2 separate regions of the Homo sapiens genome follow, and region 1 is linked to region 2. The links are contacts of gene promoters, found by promoter capture Hi-C in human tissues and cell types (Jung and others, 2019). All regions are on one chromosome and are shown on one strand. Each heading gives the region's core, a stretch centred on a gene start or on the middle of the fragment in contact. The rest is flanking DNA. Distances are from core to core; before and after follow the strand shown.

What was found. The method cuts DNA at HindIII sites, captures the fragments that hold promoters and counts their contacts. A contact is called where the count stands out against the background at its distance.
Region 1: a contact is called between a fragment that was not itself captured here and the fragment with the promoter of CACNG8 in region 2, in 2 of the 25 tissues and cell types used here (pancreas and spleen).

What each region holds. Positions count from the first base shown.
Region 1 is chr19:54,035,572-54,041,229 of GRCh38, forward strand. VSTM1 (V-set and transmembrane domain containing 1) reads right to left here. Exons shown (of 9, transcript NM_198481.4): 9 at 5,254-5,509. The coding sequence ends at 5,390. Among named protein-coding and RNA genes, the nearest start is that of VSTM1, 25 kb to the right of the region's middle. RefSeq lists an enhancer at 314-889. The HindIII fragment of the contact is 3,712 bases long and covers 1,670-5,381 here.
Region 2 is chr19:53,960,332-53,965,400 of GRCh38, forward strand. It overlaps CACNG8 (calcium voltage-gated channel auxiliary subunit gamma 8), which reads left to right and starts at 2,606. Exons shown (of 4, transcript NM_031895.6): 1 at 2,606-3,094. The coding sequence starts at 2,812. RefSeq lists enhancers at 1-636, 1,447-1,967. The HindIII fragment of the contact is 7,710 bases long and covers 1-5,069 here.

The sequences.
Region 1 (5,658 bases), core at 2,276-4,775, 76 kb after region 2:
TGGAAAGTAAGTCACGATATATAGGGCTAAATAAAACCCATCTGATGAGAATTTATGGTTTGTAGGGCATGAGACCCCAGACCCCTTAGATAAGAATCTGGGCAAGATAAAAAAAAAAAATCAGAGCTGAGTCCTCACTATGGTAATTCAGTGAGTGTGACTACCAGCATAGATGTCCATAAAGGATATCCATTAGGGCCACCCATTTTAATAATGTTTGCCAGGACCCTTCAATCAAAACAAAATCCATTCTCAGAATAGCTTAGAATCAAAGGAGGACTTTTTGGGTTTTTTTGGTTCAAGAAGGATTGGGCAAGAAAACTGCAGGGAGTGAAGGAATGCTGAGCTTTGGAAGCAATTAGAACCAAGAAAACAAAAGCTGAAAGCACTGTTACTCACTCCCGCTTCCCGGATGCTCCCTGAGTCATCTTTGTGTTTCTCCATAAAGACTGGCTTCCTCCACATGGCGAGACAGATGGCCACCAAGAACTCCCAAGCTTAAAAAAGAATGACTCTCTGTGGCAAGAAAACAAAGAGACACTCCTCCCCACCTTGCTACTCCCTATGTGGCCTCCACACTGCAACCTGGGACTGTGTAGTGAGGGGAGGGGGAGCGAAGAAGTTTGCGTTAGTCTGTTTTCACACTGCTGATAAAGACATACCTGAGACTGAGTAATTTATTTTTATTTTTATTTTTATTTATTTATTTTTTTGAGACGCACTCTGTCACCCAGGCTGGAGTGCAGTGGCACGATCTCCGCTCACTGCAAGCTCCGCCTCCCGGGGTCACACCATTCTCCTGCCTCAGCCTCCTGAGTAGCTGGGACTACAGGCGCCCGCCACCGCGCCCGGCTAATTTTTTGTATTTTTAGTAGAGACGGGGTTTCACTGTGTTATCCAGGATGGTCTCGATCTCCTGACCTCATGATCCACCCGCCTCGGCCTCCCAGAGTGCTGGGATTACAGGCGTGAGCCACTGCGCCCAGTCAGTTTACTTTTTAAAAAAGAGGTATAACGGACTTACAGTTCCACATGGCTGGGGAGGCCTCACAATCATGGCAGAAGGTGAAAGGCACATCTTACATGGTGGCAGACGACAGAGAAATGAGAGAGCCAAGCAAAAGGGGAAACCCGTTATAAAAACCTCAGCTCTCCTGAGACTTGTTCACTACCATGAGAACGGCATGGGGGAATGTGTGGGTGGAGGATTAGCCAGGTGCTGAGGCAAGAGACTGAAGGCACAAACTGTTGCAGTATAATAAAGAAAATAGAATAAGAATAGTCATAATACAAATTAGATGTAGAGATGATCATGGACAATTATCAATCATTATTATAAACATTATTAATCATTAGCTTTTAATATTACTCTTTGCTGCATTACTAATATAACCTAGGAATAACCGGCGGGTATAGGGTCAGGTGCTGAAGGGACATGGTGAGAAGTGACCTAGAAGGCAAGAGGTGAGCCCTCTGTCACGCGTGCATCAGGGCCGCTTGAGGGGTCCTTGGTCAAGCGGTAACGCCAGTGTCTGGGAAGGCACCCGTTACTTAGCAGACGGTGAAAGGGAGTCTCCTTTCCTTGGAGGAGTCAGGGAACACTCTGCTCCACCAGCTTCTTGTGGAAGGCTGGATATTATCCAGGCCTGCCCGCAGTCATCCGGAGGCCTAAACCCCTCCCTGTGGTGCTGTGCTTCAGTGCTCACACTCCTTGTCCACTTTCATGCTCCTCCCGTACTCCTGGCTCCTCTTTGAAGTTCATAGTAGATAGCGGTAGAAGAAATAGTGAAAGTCTTAAAGTCTTTGATCTTTCTTATAAGTGCATGGAAGAAAACGCTGACGTATGCTGCCTTCTCCCTCTCTCTCTGCTTCGGCTACCTAAGAGGGAAGGGCCCCCTCTCCTGTGATCACACGACTTGCTTCACCTTGTCAATCACTTCGAAGATTCACCCTGCTTACCCTGCCCCCTTATCTTGTATGCAATAAGTATCAGCGCGCCCAGCCGTTATGGGCCACTACCGGTCTCCGCGTCTTGATGGTTGTGGTCCTCCGGGCCCAGCTGTTTTCTCTTTATCTCTTTGTCTTGTGTCTTTATTTCTTACAATCTCTTATCTCTGCACACGGGGAGAACACCTGCAAAGCCCCATAGGACCCTGCAGGAATCCACCCCCATGATTGAATTATCTCCCACTGGGTCCATCCCACAACACATGGGAATTATGGGAGCTACAACTGAAGATGAGATTTGGGTGGGGACACAGACACAAGCCATATATCAAGGTTGTTCCTTCAGATGCAGCAATCCTGGGAGCTTCTGGTTAGGACAAGATACAAGCAGAGACAGCTTCATGGGTATTGTAAACTCAATGTTTGTGTCCCGACAAAATTCAGCTGTTGGAACCTAACCCCAAGGTGATGGTATTTGTAATACGGGAGCTAAAAAGAAATTATTGAGGCAGACAGTGAGGGTAAGAGAGTCCTCAGTAAGGTTTCCTATTAATAAAGAGCAGCCCCCAAATAATTTCTTTTCTAACAGAAAGCAGCCTGAAACATCAAGCTGCAAGCATAGATAAACAAGCTAAAATCTTGCATCAGCTGTGCCAATAGAAAACGGATGCCTGGGAGCCGGGTATATTCAACATGGAGGTTCCCTCTTCCCTTTTCTTTGTCCCCACATGTGCAGTAAAAAAGCAGACAACATGGCCCCGGCCAGGCAGAGACCCTACCTACGTAATAAAAGATTAGGGTGGGATGGCCAGCTTCTTTGGGGGCTATGCAAACGTCATACCTGGTCCGACTAATCTCTCAGGCCCTATGTAAATCAGACAGCACCTCCTCAAGCTTGTCTATAAAAGCCCCATGCATTTCACCACAAAACCAGGGGTCCCACTCGGGAACCCCTCTCTTCTCTGTGCAAAAGAGAGAACTATTCTCTTTTCTCTTTCTTTTGCTTATTAAGCCTTCACTCTTTTTTTTTTTTTTTTTTTTGAGATGGAGTCTGGCTCTGTCATTCAGGCTGGAGTGCAGTGGCACGATTTCGGCTCACTTCAACCTCCGCCTCCCAGGTGCAAGCAATTCTCCTGCCTCAGCCTCCCAAGTAGCTGGGATGACAGGCACCCACCACTGCGCCCAGCTAATTTTTATATTTTTAGTAGAGATGGGGTTTCACCGTGTTGGTCAGGCTGGTTTCGAACTCCTGATCTCAGGTGATCCGCCCCCCACTCGGTCTCCCAAAGTCCTGAGATTACAGGCGTGAGCCACTGCGCCCGGCCCAGTCTCTTTCACTATGTAAGGACACAGCAAGAAGGTGCCAGCTATGAACCAGGAAAAAAGCCCTCAGCAGACACTGAATCTACCAGTGCTTTGGTCTTGGACTTCCAGCCTCCAGAACCATGAGAAATAACTATGTGTTGTCTGTAAGCTGCCAGGTCTTTGGTATGTTGATAGCAGCCTGGATGGACTAAGACACTCTCTCCTTCCCTCTCATGCCCTGGACCCTCATCAGGGCCAGAAGTGGTTGGGGTGATGGCCCAAGCAGACTTTAAAAAGCACTGGCCTAGCACAAGGGTTGGCACGCTAGAGCCCACAGCTTGTTTTTGCAAATAAAATTTTTTGTTTTTAAAACAACTTTCTGGGCTGGGCACGGTGGCTCACGCCTGTAATCCCAGCACTATGGGAAGCCGAGGCAGGCGGATGACTTGAGGTCAGGAGCTCAAGACCAGCCTGGCCAACATGGTGAAACCCCATCTCTACTAAAAATACAAAAAAATTAGCCTGGTGTGATGGCAGAAGCTTGTAATCCCAGCTACTCAGGAGGCTGAGACAGGAGAATCATTTGAACCTGCGGGGAGAGGTTGCAGCGAGCTGAGATCACGCCACTGCACTCTGGCGCCTGGGCGACAGAGCAAGACTCCATCAAAAAAAAAAAAACTTTCTATAGATACATAATATTTATGCATATTTATGACATACATGTGATAGTTTGATACATGCACAGAATGTATAATACTCAAATTAGGGTATTTAGGATATTCACCACCTCAAACATTTATCTTTTTTTTTATCTTTTCGAGACAGAGTCTCTCTCTGTCGCCCAGGCTGGAGTACAGTGGTGTGATCTTGGCTCACTGCAACCTCTGCCTCCCGAGTTCAAGCAATTCTTCTGCCTCAGCCTCCCAAGTGGCTGGGATTACAGGTGTGCGCCACCACACCCAGCTAATTTTTGTATTTTTAGTGGAGATGGGGTTTCACCTTGTTGGCCAGGCTGGTCTTGAACTCCTGACCTCAGGTGATCCACCCATCTTGGCCTCTCAAAGTGTTGGGATTACAGGAGTGAGCCACTGCACCTGGCTCATTTATCGTTTGTGTTGGGAATGTTTCAAATCTTCTCTTCTAGCTATTTTGAAATATACAATATATTGCTGTTAACTATAGTCACCCTTCTGTGCTATTGAACACTTGAACTTATTCCTTCTATCCAACTGTGTTTGTGCCCATTAACTATCCCACCCCTTCTAGCCTTTGATAACTGACTCTCTCTTTACCTTCATGAGATCTACTTTTTTAGCTCCTACATGAGTGAGAACATGAAGTTGTAAATAAAGTTTTATTCTAACACCGCCACACCTACTTGTTTACATATCAGCGATGGCTGCTTTCATGGTACAACAGCAGAGTGGGGTAGTCTCAGCAGAGATCCTACAGCCCACAAAGCTGGACGTGTTACTCTCTGGTCCTTTTGTTTTCTGCCCTCTGGTCTAGGAGTTTGCAGCTCTGGGCGTTTTTTGTTTTTTTTTTTTTTTTTTTTTGAGATGGAGTCTCACTCCATTGCCCAGGCTGGAATTCAATGGCGCCATCTCAGCTCACTGCAATCTCTGCCTCCTGGGTTCAAGCGATTCTTCTGCCTCAGTCTCCCAAGTAGCGGGGATTACAGGCGCCTGCCACCACGTCCAACTAATTTTTTATTTTTAGTAGAGATGGGATTTCACCATGTTGGTCAGGCTGGTCTTGAACTCTGACCTCAGATGATCCACCCACCTCGGCCTCCCAAAGTGCTGGGATGACAGGCGTGAGCCCGGCCGTTTTCTTTTTTGCTTGTTGTGCTTCCTGGAGATGCTCAGTAATTCTTACATTCTTTCCTGGATAGCTGGTCAATCATTATTTATTATTTCCTTGAATTGTTCTAGGAGGAAATGTGGGGTAGAAAGAGTATGGTGGGGTTCTTGGGCATGAATAATCCATAAATAAGTCAGATTTCTTTTTAAGACGAGAAACTTAATTTTATTGATATGGACGAAGAGCAAGGAAACACAGTATCTGCATCTCCAGATTTCCGATAACCTTGGCCAGCACGATCCCCCCTCCTTTAGTGGCCAGGGCTGTCTTCTTGCTACACTTTCAGTGCCGCATATTCATGAGATCCTGGGGGCTCCTGGGTGGTGTCTGAAGCTGCCTCAGACAGGGCGCTGGTGCTTAGCTCAGCATAGGTCACTCCTTGGGGGTCTGCCGTCTTTGGAGAAAATAGATGAATATTAGAACTGAGTGTTCAATATGGCAGCCACTAGCCACACATGGCTATTGACATTTAAGTTAATTACAATTAAATTTAATTTAAAACCCAGGTCCTCGGTCACACCAGATGCATTTCTTTTTCTTTTC
Region 2 (5,069 bases), core at 1,356-3,855:
GAGGCTGGGGGTTGCCCTGTCCAGCGGGCTGCTGAACTGTGGCCTGAGGAAGGGCTGTGTGTGGGCAGACGGGAGTTGAGGTGGGGGAGGGAACACAACGTGTGGGGCACTAGGCCCAGTTGCCATGGAGACACCCCCCATAGACAACCTTTTTCCACAGCCCCTCCTCGGAGCAGCCCCAGTCTGAGGCCAGCTGATGGGGGGCAGTGGAGACGGGCAAGCAATCAGGAGGCCAAGGTCACCCTGTACTGGGACCTAGGTTCTGGTTTTTGTTTTGTTTTTTTTTAATCCCCTCTTCGTCTAAGGTTTCCAGGCTCTTAACTATAGTGGGTTTGGGGGAAGAAGTTGAAGAAGCAGTGTGGAAGCAAGTAAGGAGTACATCCCCCAGAGGACAGTTGGGGTGGGGGAGACAGGCAGGGCTGGGGGCATGGTGGTCGGGGGAGAATGTGGAAGAGAGAAATGAAGGAGCCACGGGGCAGCGGGTGCAGGCTGGGAAAGTATTCCTAATTGAAAAGAGAGTTGTAGTCTTGCGGATCACATTTTTCAGAGGGACACAGTCTACTGGGGGGGCTCTTTCTGCATGTGGAAGAAGATGAGGGGCTACAGTGTGTGTTCCTGTACAGGTGAAGTCGTAGAGGGGAGTACTGGGGGGCGTTCCCAAGAAGGGAAGCCTGTGGGGGCCTGCGGAGGGGATTTTCCGGGGCAGAGGAGAACCTGGGAGCTATAGCGGTGGAGCAAGAGGAAGTGAGTCAAGGGAATTCTATATGATGAGAGAGAAGTTGGGGAGGATGCTTCCTGGTACATTGAAGAGAGAGTGGGCTTCAAAGTGAGTTAGGGGGATCTCAAGTTGGGGGAAACAGTGTGCTGAAGATCCCGTGTGATGATGAAGGGCTACGAGGAGGGGATTTGGAGGCAGTGGGAGCTGCTGTGAGTGCAGAGGGGCGGGTGGGTGGTACAGTGTGCCCCCTGCTATGGGAGTACAGGGCAGAGATTGGAATGGTCCTGAGTGGAGAGACATTTGGGGTCTGGAGGAAGCCATTCTTGCGAGTAGAAAATGCCGTGGAACTCACGGAGGAAATTTTTCTTAATGGAGGAGAAAACGATGGTTATGATATGAGTTCGTTTAAGTTGTGGGGGGGGGGGTGGCGGGGTGGGAAGATTCAGAAAACTCTTCTAAAGCAAAAGAGAGGGTGGGGGTTTTCCTGGAGTAAAGGCATAGTATGGGGTGGGGAGTGAGTGGCTTGTGGGGAGACAGTGGGGGCTGTGACAGGGAATGGGCTGGAGATGGCGGGGGGGGGGCAGCTTGCAAACCAGTGGGTCTGATGTTGGGTGCATTAGAATTCCCCAGGGAGCTTTTAAAAACTTACATGCGCAGGCCACACTGCAGACCAACCATGTCGGACTTTCTCAGGTGGGACTCAAACATCCGAATTTTTAAGGTCCTCGGGTGATTTCCAGGTGTGTTGGAGGCTGCCCGAGGCAGGAAGGGGGCTTCCAGGGAGAGGAGGCTGACTGAGGGTGGCTGGTGATTCCGAGTTGCACAAACTGTGAGGGTCAGCTGGGATTTTCTTTTTCTTTTTCTTCTTCTTTTAATTTTTCCTTTTTAGTTGAAGAGAGGTTGAGAGATTTATTTTTTCCTAAGGAGAGGAAACTGTGGGGGACCATTTGGAGTGATGGAATGACAAAAGCCAGACCGGAGGGGGCTCGCGGAGGTTACTCCCACGGAAGTGGTGCTACTCGGGCTTCTTAAGTTGTGGAGACGCTCAGGGAAAAGTTGGGCTGACAGGGAAGGGTTCTAGCGGGTGGAGAGGTGGGGCTTGCAGGGGAAGAGTGGGGAGAGCTGGTGGGCGCCGCATGGTGATGGGGCGGGGGTCGCTAAGGAAGGAAGAACGCGACGGGGGCTCCTGGGGAGGAGGCGGCGGCGTGGGGCTTGGCATCATGGCGGGGGGTGGCTTCCCATGCGATGAGGATCGTGGAGCCCCCTGGGGCGGAGGCGGCGCGGGCTAGGGGCGAGGGCTGTGAGTGTGAGCGGTGGTGGGGACTCCTCCGAGTGGGGTTAGTGGGATGGTGGGACGACTTTCTTGGGCAGAAGACAGGAGTGGAGAGAGATTTCATCTTATTTATTAATTATTAGCGGTGGTGGGGACTCCTCCGAGTGGGGTTAGTGGGATGGTGGGACGACTTTCTTGGGCAGAAGACAGGAGTGGAGAGAGATTTCATCTTATTTATTAATTATTAGCGGTGGTGGGGACTCCTCCGAGTGGGGTTAGTGGGATGGTGGGACGACTTTCTTGGGCAGAAGACAGGAGTGGAGAGAGATTTCATCTTATTTATTAATTATTAGCGGTGGTGGGGACTCCTCCGAGTGGGGTTAGTGGGATGGTGGGATGACTTTCTTGGGCAGAAGACAAGAGTGGAGAGAGATTTCATCTTATTTATTAATTATTATTATTATTATTATTATTATTATTATTTTTGAGAAAGAGAAGCAGTGGAGCCCCGAGTGGAAGGAGTTTCTGGAGCTGAGGCAGGGATTTTGGGGGGGGGGGGGCGGGGACTGGGGGAGGTACCTGTGCCTTCTTCTCCTCTAATGCGAGATCTCGCTCCTTGCCCTCCACCAGCCGCCGACCATGGCCGCGCTCTGACCCCCTCCCCGGCCGCAGCCTCCTCCTCGCCGCCCCCCTCCCCAGCCCCGCCGGCCCCGGGCCCCCCGCTTCTGCCTGCGCTGTGAACCCCCCCCCAGCCGCCGGCACGGCCCCGCCCCCGCTGCCCCGGTGGTGGCCCACGGCCCCCCGGCTGCCCGTGGTCAAACTGGAGTCGCTGAAGCGCTGGAACGAAGAGCGGGGCCTCTGGTGCGAGAAGGGGGTGCAGGTGCTGCTGACGACGGTGGGCGCCTTCGCCGCCTTCGGCCTCATGACCATCGCCATCAGCACTGACTACTGGCTCTACACGCGCGCCCTCATCTGCAACACCACCAACCTCACGGCCGGCGGCGACGACGGGACCCCCCACCGCGGGGGCGGCGGCGCCTCGGAGAAGAAGGACCCCGGCGGCCTCACGCACTCGGGCCTCTGGAGGATCTGCTGCCTGGAAGGTAGGGTGCGGGCGGCCCTCCCCGCAGCCCCCGCCGCTCCCCTCCGAGAGACCCTGAGCCTCCCGGGGCTGCCTGTCCCTGATCCTGGGGCCCCCTTGGGCACCCCTCCTCCTCTGCCAGAGGGGCTTCTGCGCCTTCCCACTCGCGCCCCTGACCTCCTCTCCCCTCCTTCCCACTCCTCCCTGCGTCCTGGCACCCTGCGGAATTCCTCGGCATGCTCCCTCTGCAGCCCCTCTGCCTCTCCGCTGAACCCCCTTATCCTATCTTTCCCTAGTCCGTGTCTCCTGCGCTGCCCCATCACACCCCTGCATCTTCCCTCTCTCCAGTACCTGGGGCTCCTCCTGTTTCATTTCTTCCACTCTGCCCTGTGCCTTTTCTCTTTTTTTTTTTTTTTTTGACAAGGTCTCACTCTGTCGCCCAGGCTGGAGTACGGTGGCACAATCACAGCTCACTGCAGCCTCGAATCCCTAGGCTCAAGCCATCCTCCCACCTCTGCCTCCTGAGTAGCTGGGACCACAGGCATGAGCCACTGTGCCCAGCTAATTTTTTTTATTATTTGTAGAGATGAGGTCTCCTGTTGCCCAGGCTGGTCTCGAGCTCCTGAGCTCAAGAGATCCTCCTGCCTTGGCCTCCAAAGTGCTGGGATGAAGGGCATGAGCCACTGCACCCAGCAGCCTCTTTCTCCCTCTTTCCCGTCAGTTCATCTTGACCCTGCTCCTCCGCTCCACCTGCCCCTTCATTTCCTCTCCCTCGTGCCCCGTGACATCTTCTCTCTCCCGACATTTCCCCCCCAGTCCTCTGAAGTCCCCTGCCTCTCCCGCCCCCTTTCACGGCCCAGTCTTCCGGTCTGTCTCTTTCCCCTTCTCTTTGGCTGCTGCTCCCCTGAAACTTCGTGCCTTAACTCGCCCTCACTCATGACTTTCTCTCTTTTCTGCCTTGTGCTTCTCCTCCTGTTCATCTTTCTCTTCCCATCAGTGCCCCCACCCATGTCTCTCCCACCAGGGTGCCCTCCAACCTCCCATCCTGGTCCTTTCCTCCTTTTTCCTTTAGTGGACTCCACTTCCTCTTCCTCCACTCATGCCTCCTTCGACGTCTTCCTGACTCGATGCCTCAGGCCTTCACGTTAAGGCTTCTCGCTCCTGCCCCTGCTACCTCCTCGGATCTTCGACTTGGTTCTTTTCCTCTGTCCTGTTCTCCCTCTCACAGCTTCTCTCCTAGCTCGGCTCCCTGGCTCTCGACTTCCCCACTTCTCCAAGACTCCTGCCCTCTGCTGTGCCAACCCCTTCTCTCTCCCACTCTTAGCATCAGTATTTCTTTCCTGAGTATCAAGTAGCTGCGGGGCTGGGAAGCAGGAGTCTTGGGTGCCAGTTCTGCTGCATATCTGCCCTGCTGTGTGACCACTGTCTTCCCTCCTGCACCCCAGCCTCACAGCCCTTGTCTGCAACGTGAAGGAGTGGAACCAGCCATCCTGATGCCCCCTTCGGCCAAAAGATTGAAATCTCTTGCTTCTCTTTTTCATCCCCCTCTATTTCCTCTGCCCCTTCTTCCTCTGTTTTGCTGAGTGTTCACGACAAGCCGGGAACGTTATCTCGTTTAATCCTATGAGGTGGGCACCACCTCGCTGTTGGGGATGGGTAAACTGAGGCTCAGAGAAGTGAAGTCACTTGCCCAAGGTCACCTAGCTGAGAAAGGGGCCGAGCCAAGAGCAGAACTCGAATCTCATGGATGGGATTCACAGATGCGCTCTGTCTAGTGTACAAAGTGTTTAAAACTGAAAGCAAAATCTGAATCCATTGCCAACAGTTAAAAATAGGGAGGCTTCCCATTGTAGTTCTGATTTCCGGCTTCTTCTGAGCTGGCGGAAGATCTAGCACAAGCCTGTGTTCTACCCTGACCACGATGGGCCGGATCTGAGCAGCAGCTGGGGGGTCTCCACTTCCCCACAGTCACCTCCATCTGCTCCGTCTCGCCTCCC